Linked DNA regions of Homo sapiens: region 1 is linked to region 2. Evidence: promoter capture Hi-C in human tissues and cell types (Jung and others, 2019). All regions are on one chromosome and are shown on one strand. Each heading gives the region's core, a stretch centred on a gene start or on the middle of the fragment in contact. The rest is flanking DNA. Distances are from core to core; before and after follow the strand shown.

Region 1 (2,700 bases), core at 56-2,555, 610 kb before region 2:
TCTTTTCCTTTCCTTTCTGATGACCCCGGCAGTGTAAGACTGCCACCTCTTTAGATTTCTGCACAGCCAATAATAATCTCCTGACGGCTTCCTGATGTTTGATTGGTGTTCTCTCGGAAGTTAGGAATTCCCTTTCTCTCCATATTGCTGCATGGGCATGGAGGACTAGGTAAGCATACTTACAGTCTGTATCTCTATTTACCCTTTTTTCTTTTTCTAATTTTAGTGCCCAAGTGAGGGCTATTTTAGTTTTGCCAGCTGAGTGATAGTTTATATTAGTTTTGCCAGCTGAGTGATAGTTTATATTAGTTTTGCCAGCTGAGCGATAGTTCCTGGAGTGAGGGGATTACTTTCAAGTATTTTATTATTACTGACCAGTGCATACCCCGCCTTTCAAATTCCTTTTTCAACAAAGGAACTTTCATCAGTATACAAGTTGAGGTCAGGATCAGTCAAGGGAACCTCTAGAAGGTCCCCTCGAGTGGCATAGGTTTGAGCAATCACCTGTTGACAGTTATGTTCTATCTTTTTTTCATTGTCTGGAAGAAATGTGGCTGGGTTAAGAGTTGCACAAGTGTGCAGCCACATCACTGGCCCTTCAAGTAATAGAGCCTGATATTTAAGTAAACAGTTGTCTGACAGCCACAAGTCTCCTTTAGCAGTGAGTATGCCGTTGACATCATGAGATGTCCACACAGTAAGATCTCTTCCCTGTATCATTTTAACTGCTTCAGATACTAAGACTGCTACTGCCGCCACTACCTGTAAACAGTGAGGCAAACCCTTTGCCACTACATCAATTTCCTTAATCAGGTATGCCATGGGTTGCAAGCTTGTCCCTTGGACCTGTGTAAGGACTCCTAGAGTTATTCCTATTTTTTTCTGTGACATATAAAGAAAAGTCTTGCCCCGTTGGCAAGCTTAACACTGGGGCTTGGGTTAGTGCCTTCTTTAGGGCCTGGAAAGCCGCTTCTGCTTCAGGTGTCCATCTTACTAAATGGGTATTGGCTTTCTGAGTTTCCTTAATTTCACTGGACTTATTGGTGAGACATTTGCATGCCAGAGGATGGGAAATAAATCTGACTAAAATTCAGGAAACTTCTACCTCATTAAAATTTCTAGGGGTCCAGTGGTGTGGGGCCTGTTGAAATATTCCTTCTAAGGTGAAGGATAAGTTGCTGCATTTGGCCCCTCCTACAACCAAGAAAGAGGCACAATGTCTAGTGAGCCTATTTGGATTTTGGAGGCAACACATTCCTCGTTTGGGTGTGTTGCTCTGGCCCATTTATCGGGTGACCCAAAAGGCTGCCGGTTTTGAGTGGGGTCAGGAGAATGGTTTGCAACAGGTCCAGGATGCTGTGCAAGCTGCTCTGCCACTTGGGCCATATGACCCAGTAGATCCGATGGTGCTTGAGATGTCAGTGGCAGAGAGGAATGCTGTTTGGAGCCTTTGGCAGGCCACCATAGGTGAATCACAGTGGAGGCCTCTAGGATTTTAGAGCAAGGCTCTGCTATCTTCTGCAGATAACTACTCTCCTTTTGGCCTGCTGCTGAGCTTTGGTGGAAACTGAACATTTGACTATGGGTCATCAAGTCACCATGCGACCTGAACTGCCTATCATAAACTGGGTGCTTTCTGGCCCATCTAGCCATAAAGTGGGTTATGCACAGCAGCATTCCATCATCAAATGGAAGTGGTACATACATGATCAGTTTCGAGCAGGTCCTGAAGGCACAAGTAAGTTACATGTGGAAGTGGCTCAAATGCTCCTGCCACCCTGCCTTCTCTTCTCCAGCCTGCACCAATGGCCTTATGGGGAGTTCCCTATGATCAGTTGACAGAGGAAGAGAAGACTAGGGCCTGGTTTACAGATGGTTTTTCATGATATGCAGGCACTACCCGAAAGTGGACAGCTGCAGCACTACAGGCCCTTTTTAGGACATCCCTGAAGGAGAACAGTGAAGGGAAATCTTCCCAGTGGGCAGAACTTTGAGCAGTGCACCTGGTTGTGCACTTTGCATGGAAGGAGAAATGGCCAGATGTGTGATTACATACTAATTCATGGGCTGTGGCCAATGGTTTGGCTGGATGGTCAGGGACTTGGAAGAAGCATGATTGGAAAATTGGTGACAAAGAAACTTGGGGAAGTGGGTATGTGAATGGACCTCTCTGAGTGGTCAAAAACCATGAAGATATTTGTATCCCATGTGAGTGCTCACCAACAGGTGACCTCAGCAGAGGAGGTATTTTAATAATCAAGTGGATAGGATGACCCATTCTATGGACACCACTCAGTCTCTTTCCCCAGCCACCCCTGTCATTGCCCAATGGGCCCATGAACAAAGTGGCCATGGTGGCAGGCATGGAGGTTATGCATGGACTCAGCAACATGGACTTCCACTCACCAAGGCTGACCTGGCTATGGCCACTGCTGAGTGCCCAATTTGCCAGCAGCAGAAACCAACACTGAGCCCTCGATATGGCACCATTCCTCAGGGTGATCAGCCAGCTACCTGGTGGCAGGTTGATTATATTGGACCTCTTGCATCACGGAAAGGGCAGAGGTTTGTCCTCACTGGAATAGACACTTAGCCCAGATATGGGTTTGCCTATCTTGCACGCAATGTTTCTGCCAAGACTACCATACATGGACTCATGGAATGCCTTATCCACCATCATGGTATTCCACACATCATTGC
Region 2 (2,700 bases), core at 96-2,595:
ACTCGCATTAGCAAGCAGTTGATCATAAAACAAAATGACTTGCTAAATTCCAATCAATGGCACACAGTGTGGTCTGAGAGTGATGTCCTGAATTCCCTTCCACAGTTATCTAGAGAAGGACTTAGATGGATATATTCCAATATTGGCGAGAGAGTCCCTTTAATTCATTCCAGCACTTATCCCACACTTCCCCAGCAGAAAAACTGGTTAATGTACATCCTGGGTAATTATCTGTGTCTCTGGATTTCATTCTTTAGTAACTAATCCCTCACCTACAACAGTGTATAGTAAGGTCAAGGATGAAATTTCTCAGAAACTCGCTCCCCACAGCACCACGCACAAGAAGACCCACCCATTCCAGCCAACCCCGTGTGTCCAAGTCCCATTCGCCCACATAAGCCTCTATTTGACAAATTCCTCGAGCTCCTACCCTTGGGGTGGGGACCTTTCGCCTCCCGTGAGGTGCCGGCTCTCCCGTGCTTCGCTGACTGCCCGCATTGGGTGGGGAGATTCGCCTCTGGTGCCGAGGGAAAACTGCGTTAGGCGAGGGTGGAAGCTCTGTCGGACCCGTGCGAGCACGTGGGTGCGCGCGGGCCGCGGAGTGAGCAGCAGCCAGGATTCCTCTCCAGATCGCGCCCCCGCCGCATTTCATTGCCTGAAACGGCCCACGCCCCGCGATGGCCCAGCAGACACCCGGCACAGCACAGCGTCACTGCGCGGCCCCCGCAGCGCACGGACCCCCCCACCCTGCCCGACCCCAGACCCGCAGCCGAGCCCGTCTGGTATGTGGTGGGTGGAGAGGGTACCAACTAAGCATCCCAAAGTCCTTCAGGGAGCAACTCCGCGCAGTTTTCTCTTCCCGACCCGCAGCCTCCGCAGCAGCCGCTCGGAGCACCCCCGGGCAGGTGCCCCGCGCGAGCTCAGCGCCTTCCCCGCGGATCCCCGGCCCCTGCGGGACCCAGGCCCAGGACAAAAGAAATGAATTTGCTCTGTACCTGATCCTGTCCTTCTCGGCCCTCTGTAACTCCTCATTCCTTTCCAGCACCTGAAGGATCTTCCTGGCCTCTTCGTCATTTAAGAAACTGAAATCAAACGCCGGAGGAACTTTCGTCATTTTCTTTACTGTGTGTGAGTTACACTTAAGCTCCTTGGCGCCTCCTGTTAGGAAGGCATTTTTCAACCTGTACAAGACCAGTTTCACGAACTTGATCCCACAGCCAATAATAAGTCCGCCCCTTTGAAAGTCTAAAACCACAAACCTAGGGAACGCCCACACCTGAAGGGCTCATATTGACAATACCTTAATGACATGTTTCTCTCAACCTGTCCAACCGAGATGCAAAGTGAACGGCTAAAGGGAGAGAGGGAACCAATCCCGTTCCAAGGGGGCGGGCCCTCCCTTGTCCCCTCCCTCGTCCCCTCCCTCGTCTCGTCCCGTCCCTCGTCCCCTCCCTCGTCCCCTCCGGTCACCCTCCCCGCCCCCTATCTGAGTTGTTAAGCAAACAAGCCTACATAATTCTGCCTCTTAAGTGAGGCAAGGCTAAGTGTTGGCGCCAAAGTATTTGCTTTTGCTGTTGCTGTTTGCTCGCAGAACTTGAGCTTGATTAGTAAAGGAGTGAAAAAGGAGATTCATGACTAATCCTCCCTTTCAATAATTAAGAGCCCATAGAAAATAGAATTGCAAGTAGGGTTTGTAACTGGCAAAAGGGTTACTTATCTGAAAGACCAGGAAGAACTAAACTCAATTACACTACTGACTGTGGATGAACCTGGCTGAAGGGCGGAAATTAGTGTATCCTTGGAAACGAATTATTTGCCAAGCCTCTCATCCCACAGACACCCCCACCTCCACTGTCCCACAAAAGTCATTCTTAGACTTTAGAAACAAACAAACAAACAAACAAAACCGTTTATGGTATTTTAGGAGAAGACAGCCCAGAAGCAAAGGACTGTAGAAAACACCTGTTAGAAGTTTTCTGTAAGATTTTATTATCATCTTAATAAACTCAGAGAAGTAATACACATGCCATTTAAAAATACCTAATCCTCTGGTGAAAGCAAATGGTAATCCTATGAAGCCACAGAAATAGCTTTCCTAGAAAGTCAATTGTTCCACAATGCAATGAAGAATAATAGAAACTTATAAAGATATTCACATATATACTTTTTTTTTAATTATCAAGGCTTTTACAGAAAACATGTTTTTATCTTGGCTTCACTTCCTACCCAAAAATAACTCTGTCAGATTGACTTTCCTGCCCCATAGCCTTAATTTGGTCATTTTGAAGATGGTGGTGATGATTACTAACATATAAAATGTACTTCTACATATATCATTTCTTTTCATGGCACATAAACCCAATTAAAATTTTGTATCTGTACAAGAACATGATATCAAAAATTGCCACTTGTGTTTTGTTCTCTGGGCTACCCCATTTGATCATCATTATTTAAAACATGCCTAGGCAGCTAGCCATTCAGATAACTTTCTGTGGGTGTCTGTTATTTGTGTGAACCAGGAACCAATTTTGTTCACCCATGGTGTACACAATACAGAACTCCTTTATAAATAGTGTCTGTATTAATGATCCTGTTTTGGGAGTATGTCTTGTATATGGTGTCCAGTTTTTCTAGTGTGTTCATTTATTCAGCATACACATGGGACTTTTCAATATGGTCACTGGTGGGATTTTACACTGT

What was found. Contacts are between HindIII fragments. The study calls those that stand out against the background at their distance.
Region 1: a fragment that was not itself captured here is called in contact with the fragment with the promoter of EXPH5 in region 2 in 1 of the 25 tissues and cell types used here (spleen).

The regions. Positions count from the first base shown.
Region 1 is chr11:107,982,090-107,984,789 of GRCh38, forward strand. No RefSeq gene overlaps it. Among named protein-coding and RNA genes, the nearest start is that of CUL5, 25 kb to the right of the region's middle. The HindIII fragment of the contact is 3,165 bases long and covers 1-2,700 here.
Region 2 is chr11:108,592,423-108,595,122 of GRCh38, forward strand. It overlaps EXPH5 (exophilin 5), which reads right to left and starts at 1,346. Exons shown (of 6, transcript NM_015065.3): 1 at 996-1,346. The coding sequence starts at 1,114. RefSeq lists silencers at 823-882, 1,163-1,212, 1,233-1,532. The HindIII fragment of the contact is 7,491 bases long and covers 1-2,700 here.